Linked DNA regions of Homo sapiens: region 2 is linked to region 1. The links are contacts of gene promoters, found by promoter capture Hi-C in blood cells and fetal thymus (Javierre and others, 2016). All regions are on one chromosome and are shown on one strand. The core of a region is centred on a gene start or on the middle of the fragment in contact, and the rest is flanking DNA. Distances in the headings are between cores, read along the strand shown. Region 1 holds the start of RPS27L (ribosomal protein S27 like). Region 2 overlaps RAB8B (RAB8B, member RAS oncogene family).

The links. Contacts are between HindIII fragments. The CHiCAGO score rates a contact against its expected background, and 5 or more counts as called.
Region 2: a contact is called between a fragment that was not itself captured here and the fragment with the promoter of RPS27L in region 1, in 2 of 17 cell types (total CD4 T cells and naive CD4 T cells). The highest score is 5.6, in total CD4 T cells.

Annotation. Positions count from the first base shown.
Region 1 is chr15:63,152,191-63,158,860 of GRCh38, forward strand. RPS27L (ribosomal protein S27 like) reads right to left here and starts at 5,287. Exons shown (of 4, transcript NM_015920.4): 1 at 5,210-5,287; 2 at 4,223-4,331; 3 at 3,431-3,541; 4 at 1-1,870. The coding sequence starts at 5,215. The coding sequence ends at 1,842. RefSeq lists enhancers at 4,027-5,226, 4,511-4,600, 4,751-5,410, 4,806-5,379 and a silencer at 5,561-5,660. The HindIII fragment of the contact is 11,776 bases long and covers 1-6,670 here.
Region 2 is chr15:63,258,652-63,265,328 of GRCh38, forward strand. RAB8B (RAB8B, member RAS oncogene family) reads left to right here. Exons shown (of 8, transcript NM_016530.3): 6 at 976-1,041; 7 at 4,041-4,091; 8 at 4,876-6,677. The coding sequence ends at 4,968. Among named protein-coding and RNA genes, the nearest start is that of APH1B, 16 kb to the right of the region's middle. The HindIII fragment of the contact is 1,399 bases long and covers 2,372-3,770 here.

The DNA.
Region 1 (6,670 bases), core at 4,037-6,536:
CTTGCTTGAGCCCAGGAGTTTGAGGTCACAATGAGCTATGACCCTCCAACCTGGGCAATAGAGCCAAGACACTGTCTCTATTTTTAAAAAAATCATCACATCACTTTTGCTCTTGTGTGTGTATAGTTTTTTTCAAATGGCTACTAGAGTTGTTAGAACATAAGTTAATAAATGTAACTGTTAGGTATTTCTTTTGGCCAAGGAATGGCCTGAAAAAAATTACTGAGATTCTAATGATGTCAGAAACTAAAAGTCTGAGAATCTCTGGGTCATCTACATATATATGTATATATATATATTTTTTTTTTCTTTTTTTTTTTGAGACGGAGTTTCGTGCTTGTTGCCCAGGCTAGAGTGCAATGGCACGATCTTGGCTCACCACAACCTCCACCTCCCAGGTTCAAGCGAATTCTCCTGCCTCAGCCTCCCGAGTTAGCTGAGATTACAGGCATGCACCACCACGCCCAGCTAATTTTGCATTTTTAGTAGAGACGGGGTTTTTCCATGTTGGTCAGGCTGGTCTTGAACTCCCGACCTCAGGTGATCCACCTGCCTCAGGCTCCCAAAGTGCTGGGATTACAGGTGTGAGCCACTGCGCCCAGCCTTCCTTATACAACTATATACACCCCAAACTTGCCATCATTCTTTAGTTCTTGTGCAACAGTTCTCTGATTTAAGCAGTATGTAAGAGGATCAGTTGCTCACATTAGAGGCCTACCTGTTGATAGGAAATGCCTGTTTTAAATACCTGCCACAAGGTAACAAATCAAATAGAAGCAGAGTAGAAACTGGACTATCTTCCTAGTCCAATGAGGAGTTGTATAGTGAGTGGATACACTCCCCGTCTCAGCTCCCCAGGATTACTTCATAAACTATGAAAATGACAATGAGGCAGGCACCAGAACCACTCAACACACATCTGTAGTCAGGAGTGCTCACCTATCTGGGCCAGAGAATTCAACACCATCTACTATCCCCAACCAGGACTTCTGCGGGTAAATCATGCCACTTCAGATTTCTCCTCAAATTTTCTACCCTAAAAAGGAGCTTCCAATAAATAACTCACACCCCAGCTAGCAGTTACTGTCCTAAATTATATAGTAGTATAGCAAGGCCACATAAATCCAAGGCATTACACTGTGATCAATATGTATTTTTTTGAAACTATTCTTTTTAATTATAGTTTAAGTTCTGGGGTACACGTGCAGGACGTGCAAAATATGTACTTCTTTAAGATGTTTCCACAGGTACAACAGCAGAACTACATTTAGAATTCACAAATAATAGACTTTACATCTGTAATCCTTTAATCCCATTCATAGCAATTTGGAAAAGGAATGAAAATAAAATATTTAGGGTTTCTACTCTTGAAAATGAGACACAAATTAGCCAGGCATGGTGGTGTGTGCCTATAATCCCAGCTACTTGGGAGGACAAGGCAAGAGAATTGCTTGGACCTGGGAGGCGGAGGTTGCAGTGAGCCGAGATCGCACCACTGCACTCCAGCTTGAGTGACAGAGCAGGACTCTCTCTCTCAAAAAAAAAAAAAAAGACACAAACTAATCAGAATAAATTTTAAAATGTTTAAACCAAATTCATATACACCATATATATAAATGTATGGCATACTCAAATATATTTTAAAAAAAGAAAAAGAGGGGATTTGCCCATAATCAAAACTTTATTGAAAAACTGACACCAAAATAGGAGATTACTGCTGTATACCTTACAAAACCAAATGTAATTACATTATCTTGGTAAATTAATTAGAATTATGGAATTTATGATAAGGCTTTCTGTGAGACAACACAAAATTAAAATTCAGGAAGCTGTTTGAATCATTAGTGTTGCTTTCTTCTAAATGAACACCCTGCAAAAGAATCATGAGAGTATATTAAACAAGTGCATTCTACCTTTGCTATAATTTTAATGACAAAAAGTACTTTTAAGTAAAATACTGAAGTTTTAAGAATATTGGATTAATACTCATATACAGATTATTTATCCTTTTATACCAGAAATTTGCTATAATACATCTATCATATCTGAGTTTACTCTGGTATGACTATAAGTGTCACTCCTGTTTCTCAAATGCTATAATGAAGTCTACTTAAGACCATGAGCCTGAATTCAACAGTGAAGACTGTTTCAAGCAAGCTGTCAGAAGATATACTCTTAATTTTTAGGAACTATTCTGAATACTTTTCTCAAGTAAATAATTTTGATTAGAGGTATTTTCAGACCTATTAGGAAAACTCTAGAACAGATAGACCCATTAAACCATCTGTCAGCATATGGGCACTAAATTCCAAAATCATGACATGACATACTTTGTTTCAAAAATCTCCCAAGTATACTTAGCAATATTACTTAGCAATATTACTCTTAAAAAAATCATGTGCTGACTCCATATTTAGATCTCACCAGGTCACACCAAATAGATCTCAGATTTGCTGCCAATCCACTTGAACTCTTCCAGTGAGAGCATGGAACTTACAGCTCCCCAAAATATCACAAGCAAATTTATAACATCATTATGGAATCACAAATTTACAAGTATTACTATGGAAACTATATATATAATTTTTTTTTCTTATTGCACTAAAGTGAAAGAGGAATTAAAATTAGGTTTTTATATTAATCATTGCAGTTGCTCATAAAAGTAAAATCTCTGGCATTTTAACTTATATATTAGCTATCTGTTGCTTAGCTGGCAATGATAAAAAAAAAACTATTATATGTACTAAATATATATGGAACAAAATTTTGTAAAAGAAATTTTAAAATTCTATATGGTTTTAAAAATCTGTATGTCCTGGCCGGCGAGGTGGCTCATGCCTGTAATCCCAGCACTTTGGGAGGCCGAGGCGGGCAGACCATGAGGTCAGGAGATCAAGACCATCCTGGCTAACACAGTGAAACCCCACCTCTACTAAAAATACAAAAAATTAGCCAGGCATGGTGGCACGCGCCTGTGGTCCCAGCTACTTGGGAGGCAGAGGCAAGAGAATCACTTGAACCGGGGAGGCAGAAGTTGCAGTGAGCTGAGATGGCGCCACTGCACTCCAGCCTGGGTGACAGAGCGAGACTCCTAATAAAAAAAAAAAATAATAAATAAATAAATAAATAAATCTGCATGTCCTATAACATGTAGTTATTCTTTTGCTTCTATTCTGACTTAATTTATTCCAAGTTAAGCAAACTAAGTGAATAAATGTGTTCTAAACTAAGAAAAATAAGTCAATGGAGTTCACTGCAAGGTCAAGAGTATAAATATATCCATTTGAACAGGCCATTCTTTACTGAAAGCACACAATGAAAGATAAGTTATTTTGGTAATCATTAAGATTTCTTTAAACTTTTCAGTGAAGATAGAGACATTTATAATCATCAATCTCATCACTGGGTTGGAGAATGCCAAATGATATACCTTCTGTGAGTCTGGCCTTTCCTCCTGTAGGCTGGCACAACACTGTTGAACAACCTACACAAAGAACCACTGTCTGAGCATGGCTGAAAACCGTGGTGATCTTGTAGCAACCTAAAAAAAAAAAAAGGCAATGTTAAAAATGAAAAGCAGAGGAAAACAGCACCTGTTCGACATTTCTGGTAATATGTAAAAAAATCAGTAACTTCAGTGCTATGAAACAGCAAGCCACATGTGTAACATAAACTTTTCTAGCAGCGACACAAAATTTTTTAAAAACAGGTAAAATCAATAATATATTTCATTAAACTTAATATTTCCAAAATATCATTTCAACATGTAATCAATGTATTTTTTTTCTGTGCTACATCGTCAAAATCCAGTGAGTATTTTACAATTAAAGAACATCTCTATTTTGAGTATCCACATTTTGATTATCCACAAGTGCTCAGTAGCCACATTCAGCTAATGGCCATTGTATTGGGCAGCACAGCTTTAGACTGAAGAATCAACAGACTTTTCTTTGTATCATGAAACAGAAAACTCATCGTCTGAAGAGCTTAAAGACTTGCTAAGTCAAATGGCATATCTCCTTTGAATGCCTGTTTTCACTTACCCCGAAATGTTTCTACAATGGTTTCAGTACATTTATTATGAAAATGTCCCTGACATTTCCAATTCTGTAATCCCACTTCTACTCAACAGAGGGTTCTAATGTATCTTAACTATACACACCACACTAGCAATCCCTACAGAAATTTTCTTTAGTAAAGGAATTAAGATTTCAAATTTTACCTGGACATTTTACATCCATAAAGTAAGAATTTGGACTTTGTACTAGGCGTTTCTTTTTATGTTTTTTCTTTTCCTCTTCCAAGGACGGATGTAGTAAATCTCTAGCCAACTGAACAAAGAAGCATATTATTACTATTAGTTTTAAACCACAACGCTGGCACATTTAACCATACGTGAAATATACATGCAAAAACAGGAATAACGGTCATCCTCGGCAGAAGCAACACGTCAGATAGTAAAGTTATTTTTCGAAACCTGTTAATAACTTTCATCAGTACTTTTCATAATACTTGTGTTCTCCAAGTCCCTAGAAAAGGGCTTTCGCACGATCAGGAAACATATGGTAAGGCAAACTTTGTCCTTCTTTACTCAACTGCGTAATGAACTGTCTTCGATGAAAACTGCGCGAAGTCGAGGTGCTAAGCAAAGAAAGTGACCCCGACTGTGGACTCGCTTAGAGTAGAAACTGCTGAAGTAGACCAGACAACGTCAGCGCCTGGGTGATTTTTGCTCCTGTGGCTCAACAGCTGATCTGACAGGAATTCTTGCTGAGCGACCGTCCTTGACGGAATTAATATATAAGGCAACAACGAGGACAGTTTTTAAAAAAGGAAAACAAGTAGGAAATCGCTTCCGAAAGAAGGCAGAGGGGGCGAGAAACACCAATCACTGGGAAAGCCAAAAGACCCAAAGATCACAACCTCAGGGGCATCCTCAAAGACCAAGACCGCTCATAAGCTACACAGAGAACTGTTCCCCTCCCAGCCACCGCCTCTGAATTGCAGCCCACGCCCCTGCAGGGCCAGCCGCGCCGCGGTGACCGGGCAAGTCACTACATGCCCGCCACGCGCGAAGACGCTGCGCAACCTGAGCCGCCTCGCCACTCTCGGACACTACAGGCCCGAGAGGCAGCCGGACTCATCCGTCCCATATGACTCTCGGTAAAGAAGCCCAAAACAAACCCGGAGCCCGATGTAAACAACTCACAGGCATGTTGATCCTCTTGCAAGCTCAGCCCTACCAGACCTCCCAGCCCACACAGCTAGCAAGCTGCAAGCGATCTGCGCTCGGCATCAACTTCCGGGATAGAAGCTGCTGGGAGGAGCGGCGGGGCGGGCTTGTCTGCTCTAGGCCCTCCTCTCGGTGGTAGGGGGACGCCGCAGCAGGGTACTCGGGTCCAGGGCGCAGGGAAGACCCGGGGATGGTGAGCGTTCCAGGGTGCCAAGTCCCGTGGGTCTAACGGGCTTGTTGGCGAGCGCCGCGGGCTCTGCAGTGCCTGAGGCCAGAATCTGGCTGGGGAGCGGCCTCGGGCTTAGGCCATGGCGAGGGAGCGCCCGCGGCCACCGGGGCCGGCGCCACCCCGGAACCCGGCGGGCCGCTCAGCCCCCGGCCCCCTGGCCCGGCCGCTCTCGGTTAGCTCTGGGGGTGGGCACACGGGGCAATGCCACTATTCTCTTCTTTTGTGTATTAAAAAATACAGTATTATTAACCATTAATACGTGCCAGAGAGATTATGAAAGAGGCTCGTATCCTTTTGGCTTCCCTTTTCAAGGCGCAGATTTCGAAGTTTTCTGCGGGGTATGGCTGTGCCTTAGGTTTGCTTTGTTCTGAAAAAAAGTTTTTAAAACAGCACGGATTCGCTGCTGTGCCTCATTCACTAAGAGGCCCCACCCCTTCCGAGGATTACTCGTCCTTTGCAGAGTGGACAACTAGGGGGCCTGAGAAAGGCGAATGTCACCGATGACCGAACATGAGTCTTTATCATTATTATTATTTGAGACAAGGTCTCGCTTTTTTGCCCAGGCTGGAATGCAATGGTGCCATCACAGCTCACTGCAGCCTCGACCTCCTGGGCTCAAGCGATTCTCCCGCCTCAGCCTCCCGAGTAGCTGGGACCACAGGAACACGCCATTATTCTTTTTTTTTTTTTTTTTTTCCTTGGAGACAGGGTCCTGCTATATTGCCCAGGCTTGTCTCCAATTCCTAGGCTCAAGAAGTCCTTCCACCTCAGCCTCCCAAGTAGTTGGGACTACCGGCGCGTGACAGCATGCTCTATTTTTGAGGAGGAAACTCTATGCTTGAAAAATGGGTGTCATGGGCGACCAAAAGGCAAGAAACCAGAAAGACACTTTACCAGAAAATTGGTCTAACTGGATTTTTTTTTTTTTTTTTTTTTTTTTTGGCAGAGTCTTGCTCTGTCACCCAGGCTGGAGTACAGTGGCGCGATCTTGGCTCACTGCAACCTCCGCCTCCTGGGTTCACGCGATTCTCCTGCCTCAATCCTCCCAAGTACCTGAGATTACAGGTGTCCATCACCATGTCCGGCTACTTTTTGTGTTTTTAGTAGAGACGGGGGATGGTGGGGGGGGGGTTCACTATGTTGGCCAAGCTGGTCTCGAACTCCTGACCTCAAGTGATCTGCCCGCCTTGGCCTCCCAAAGTGTTGGG
Region 2 (6,677 bases), core at 1,821-4,320, 100 kb after region 1:
TTGAGCACTGGTTACAGAATTTTCTGGGGTTTAAATACCCTCTAGAAATTTCCCATGGGTTACTTGGTTTACACTCTGTAAATGAAGTAGTGGCCCATGACCAGTTTGATTGGTTGCAGAAGGTGACCAATCAAAGGATGAAATGAAGTTACAAAGTTATACCCTGCGCAGACGTCTGATTGGTTGTGGGAGGGGACCAATCAGAGGTACTTTCCATTTTTAATCTGTGAGTCAGAAAAGGGGAGGAGGTTGCAAAGGGAGTAACCCCTGTACTTTTGTTACTTGGGCATGGAAGGCTGGGGTTTTTCTTTTGATTTAGTTCTAGGAAGTCAATGTGAATTGGCCTTAGGTTCCCTGCCTCCAGACCCTATTCTGCTACCTTAGGAGGGTGGGTATTTATCCCATATTAGAGAACTAAAAGTACAAAAACAGAAAAAAAGAGAAGTACTTAAATTATTATTATTATTTTATTTATTTATTTATTTTGAGACAGAGTCTCGCTCTGTCACCTGGACTGGAGTGCAGTGGTGCGATCTCGGCTTACTCCAACCTCTGCCTCCTGGGTTCAAGCAATTCTCCTGCCTCAGCCTCCCGGGTAGCTGGGACTACAGGCGGGTGCCACCACGCCCGGCTAATTTTTTGTATTTTTAGTAGAGGCGGGGTTTCATCATGTTAGCAAGGAGGGTCTCGATCTCCTGACCTCGTGATCCGTCTGCCTCGGCCTCCCAAAGTGCGTGAGCCACCATGCCCGGCCTTAAATTATGTTTGAAATGGAAGTTGTGCCATCCTTCTTACGATGATTAAGTTAAATTATTAAATTCTGAATACAGTAGAAGAAAGCAAAGAAATTTGAGAACCACAGGAGTTCTGAAATAGATACCCTACCTTTGAGACTTTGAAAAACCTAAGAAATACAAATGCATTATGTGTTCAAGTATCTTTTGCTAAATTTAAATATTTCTGTTTACTTTTCAGCTAGCAATTGACTATGGGATTAAATTCTTGGAGACAAGCGCAAAATCCAGTGCAAATGTAGAAGAGGTAAGAAGGAAACGTTTGGTGACTGTTACGGAGCAGCACCAGTGCTTAGGGGCCTGTGTTCAAACAGCTCTCAGAGCTTTGGTATTTTCTGACCTAATGAATGCCTTTTGTTGACCCAACTCTACTTTGTACACTTTTGTGCTTCTGATTTTTTTTTTTTTGAGATGGAGTCTCACTCTGTCGCCAGGCTGGAATGCAGTGGCATGATCTCGGCTCACTGCAACCTCTGCCTCCCAGGTTCAAGCGATTCTCCTGCCTCAGCCTCCCGAGTAGCTGGTACTATAGGTGTGCATCACCACGCCCAGCTAATTTTTGTATTTTTAGTAGAAACGGGGTTTCACCATGTTGGCCAGGAGGGTCTCGATCTCTTGACCTCGTGATCCCCTCTCCTTGGCCTCCCAAAGTGCTGGAATTACAGGCGTGAGCCACCATACCCAGCTGCTTCTGATTTTTATGTAGACGCTGGTTGTTGAATTTCTAGCATCTAGCCTCCACCTGGATTATATTAGCTTGCTCAGTTAAGATTCACAGAATAGATTATGGAAGTTCAGTTTTGCCCTTTTTTTGGGCAGCTGGAAATCCTGGACTAGAAGACCAACCAGTATCCTGTGCTCATTCATGTCACCCTGTATGCCTGCAGCAGAAGAGTTAAATCACTTTTAAGGCTGTACTCTCTCAAGGGAGAATTAAGCTGTTAGTTTATTGGACACATTCCTTTAGCGTACACATTTGAGGTAGATTAAGCACAATAAATTGTAACAGTGGCATTTAGTGGAAATAGGAAAGTGTTTATCAGGGAGTAGCTTTAATAAATTTTCATTAAGTTAGCTGTTAAGGAAAACCAAACCATCTAAAGTCTTATGAGAATAGGTTTTCTTCAATACCTAACGTAGATGACTGGTTGATGGTTGCAGAAAACCACCATGGCACGTGTATACCTAGGTAACAAACCTGCATGTTCTATACATGTATCCCAGAACTTAAAGTGTAAAAAAAAAAAATAATAGGTTTTCTTCACCAAGGGAACTGTTATTTTTTTTAAAAAACATTTTTTCAACTGATCATAAAAATAATACGTGTAATTTACATGTGATATGTGTTAATACATGTAATTCTTTTAATAATACTGATAGTTTCATAAACATTTAATTTCCTAGGTTACTCATTGTTCATCATAACATGATGGTTAAAAATCGAGACCTACATGACTTTATTAGCCAGTGGACACTGATCAGAACTTTTTCTTTGTTTTAAATAACGTAACAGTTATTTGTTTAGGTTGGCCGATGGGTGTTAGGAAACAGGAAGCCTCTACTGATTTACTTACACAAGCTTAGATAAGCAGAAAAATGCTTCCCTCTGCTTGATACAAAAGGATTTCCCGCCATCAGAAATAATCCAAGTTAAAAATGGACAAAAGATCTGAATAGACATTTCTCAAAAGAAGACAAATAAATGGCCAACAGGTATATGAAAAAATTCCCGACATCAGTAGTGATCAGGGCAATGCATATCAAAAGTACAGTGAGCTATCATCTCACCCCAATTAAAATGGCTTTTATCAAAGAGATAGGCAATAACAAATGCTGGAAAGGATGTAGAGAAAGGGGAACCCTCATATACTGTGGGTAGGAATGTAAATTAGTACAGCCACTATGGAGAACAATAAAAAAACTAAAAATAGAACTACCATATGATCCAGCAGTCTCACTACTGAGTATTTACCCAAAAGAAAGGGAATCAGTGTATCCACCTAAGTGTCCATCAGTGGATGAATGGATAAAGAAAATGTGGTATGTATACACAATGGAATACTATTCAGCCATAAAAAAAGAGTGAAATCCCATAATTTGCAACAGTATGGATAGAACTCCCTGAACTGGGAGTTGCCTGAGCTGCTTATTCTAGCAAGGCATACAGATGGTAACAACTTTGCCAGAGCTTTAAATCAGTGTGGTTAGGCTCATAGGTGACAAGTTTGACAGTGAGACACTGACAATGAGTAATAATAGTAGTTGTCGTATTGTTTTTATTTGATTGGATTGGAAATAATCCTTTTCCTGAACAGTTTTTGGGGATCAGGAGTGTTGGGAACAAAGAGGTTGATTTAACAATAGGTTTAGCATGGTGACAAATGAAGAATCTTTAACAGTTCCTGGCTTCATAGAAAAAGTGATGATGGATTTAAAAAATATTTGGTTTGTATCAAGAGACATTATGGATAAATTATCACGAAGATTAATCAGATTTGCCCTGCTTCTATTCGAACTGACTTCCATGGTGGGGAATTTAGCCGAGAGCTCCAGGAACTGTTGGGATTTTGGAGTAAGACATGGAAGATTATACATATTCAGCTATAAGAGTGAGAGCAATTTGAAAGAAAAAGCCAGAAATAAAAAGTAGAGATTTTTGTGAAGACATTTTAGAGCTATAGGGTAATACATAATTATTTATTCACTCATTAAACCAGATAGTCAGCATTTCCTAGATCAGCACTGTGCCCTGCTCTAGGGAAGTGGGGTAGCTTAGACAGAGCTTCTGTCCTGTTCTTGGTGTACTGAAGAAGTTACTCGTGACTCAACAAGGGTGTTATTGTGATATTATATCACATGAAGAAAATATTTGATGAATGAATGATAGTTTGATAACATTGGAAAATGTTTATGATACAATCTCAAAAGAGTAAACACATGCATACTATGATTACAATTATTACTTTCTTAATGTAAAGCTTTAAAGTGGTATATTTATATTGAAATAATGAAAAATTCTGTATTTCTGTTTTAAAATAAGTCAGGCATGGTGGCTCACACCTGTAGTCCCAGCTACTTAGGAGACTGAGGTGGGAGGATTGCCTGAGCCCAGGAGTTCCAATTCAGCCAGGGCAACATAGCAAGACCCCATCTCTGAGGCGGGGGGAATATATATATGTGTATATATATATATATACATATATATAGTGAATATATAATAATGAAAATGTTTTGTTTTACCTATAGGCATTTTTTACACTTGCACGAGATATAATGACAAAACTCAACAGAAAAATGGTTTGTATCACTTATAATTTTTATTTCCATTATGCTGTCTGTTTGGCATTTGATGAAAAGGATAGGTCTAATTATAAGATACTCAAATTAAACTCATTTTTTTCCTGACTCAGATACTCATTTGGTTGAACTCTGATTCTTAGTTCTGTTTGTTTAGGATTCTTATTTCTGAGCTGCCACTGTTTCAGTCCTTTCTTCTGGCTCTTTAAGTGATCTTTAATTGAATTTTGATGAGAATAATGAAAATAATAATGGCACAAATTCGATTTTTGCCATAAAATTATTCAGTTTTCATGTGACAGGTATTTATATCTGCATAACTACGATTTTGAAGTTGCTAAAGTTTGCTTAAATTTGAAATCATTAAGACAACCTTGAAAGTTTGTTTTATCCTGAGTCCTGACTATAATTGCGTACCTTATGCTACTAACTCTTCTTACCTCTAACAGAACTGTCTATGCCAGTATCTTAACATTGTTTCCATCATTACCTTTGAAACTTTACACTCCATTGGAACTAGAAATAGAAGCTTCCTATTGAATACATTATTGATATAAAAGCTGCTATCGTAAGGGCATTTTCCTCTTTTCAATTCACCATTTCCAAAGAAAAAGACAACATTGGTGCTTAACTAGTTCCCGTTCTAATAAAATACTCTAGTGAATACACATTTCACTAGAATACACATTTCACATGGTATGGTTAGTTATTTTTATTTTTTAGGTAACTGAGGTCAAACCATGAAACTTTTATTTCCTTGGTAACTTCATCTTCTATTTTTTAGAATGACAGCAATTCAGCAGGAGCAGGTGGACCAGTGAAAATAACAGAAAACCGATCAAAGAAGACCAGTTTCTTTCGTTGCTCGCTACTTTGATGAACTCTTTCTGAGAGACTGCAGCACACCTAGAGGGCCCTTTCCTGCTTCTCTGAAAGCACAGGTCACCCAGCCTCAGAATCACACCTCCCGGCTGCTGCTGAGAGCACCACTGAACTTAGACCTCTCAACACAGTATGCCAAGTGGATTCCAGCCTCATGGCCTAGCAAAAGAACAGACTCCCTTTTTCAAACATGGAAGCAATGAAGTGGAGACACATGCAGGACCTAACTCGTTTTTTCCTTGTTTTATTACCTGTTGCAGAAGCGGTTATCTTTCTTTTTTACTTTGCACATCAGTGTTAGCCTTTCCCTATTTCAGCACAATCTTAGACTCATATTTGCACACTTTTGTGTCGTGAAGTTCTAGACAAATTTGTACATGTGGCAATGTTAAAAGAGCATTTACAGCAGAGGTTAATATACTAAAATTAAAGGGTATTTGGTCTGGTTCATATGGTCAAATATTACTGCCTTGGTAGCATTTATTTAAGGGCTTTTTCTTAAATAAGAATCATTAAAGTCATTAAAAAAATTTACTGAAATGCCCATCTTGTCATCAAAGGCCACAATTTCTTTATTTCTTCAGATTAAGAGCTTTGCCTCATCCCCGACCTGTTTTCCAGAGTCTGGGTAGCTGAATGAATCACTTTAAAATGATTACCTCTGCCTAATCTATAGAAACTGCATTTGGAAATCACCATAATCTCATTTTTCCCTGGGGTTTGTATTTGCTATTCTTTCCCATGTTTGACTTAAGTGTAATCACTCTTAAGTAATATTTGAACATTATTATCTGTTTCTATTTGTGAACTTCTTGAGCTGAAATTTTACGTGGGCTGAGAGATATACCATTTAGGGTTTTAGTGCAGCATCTAACTGTGATTCTGTCAATAAGGATATGTAATATATTTTTTCTTAGGTTCACTCCTTAGCTGGCTGGTTTAGTTGTAATACCAAATTCCTACCATAATCCCTGTCTACAAAAGTTAGGTTTAGATTTTAGTTTGCGGAAACCTTCCCTATATAGAGACAGATTAACTTGTTGATATAAATTTAATAGAGCTAGCTCTTGGTAATGGTGAAAATAATGAGTTTTGGTTGGTTTTATTTGGCAGATGTTTTTAGAAATAAAAGTACTTAGACCTAGTGCAGCCTCTAGGAAAAGTCTTGCCTTTTCATTAGAGAAAACAGGACCAAGGTTTCAGTTTTCAAACAGCTGTTGTTGATTGTGTAGAACCCAGTTCCATCTGTTTTGGTTCATTGTTACAGAACTTAGTCCAGTCATTTGGGCTAAAGCCAACCAAAAGCTTAGTTGCCTTTCTCAACAAACACTGGTACTGGTATACTTTTGTAGATGAAACCATCACAAGGTATTTAGTGTTAACTTGTGTGCCAAATTCAGATCACTATGTCGTTGTTGCTCTAGCCTTCAGTGTCATAACACAGGGGGGATAAAACAGAGGGGATGAGGGAAATGAATTCTGTTAATAATTATTCTTCCTGGTATGCCTGTTTTGCTTCACAAAGGCTACTATCATGCTGGATAGATAAGAACAGGAGATGGCAGTGGAAAGGGATTGCTTGTTACCACAGAGAATTCTCTTCAAATTAAGATATGTCATTAGAATGCTTGGACCAGTCAATCTTTTGTACTTATTTGAAAATATAGGAACAATTTAGCAGCTGCAAATATGCCCAAGCTATTT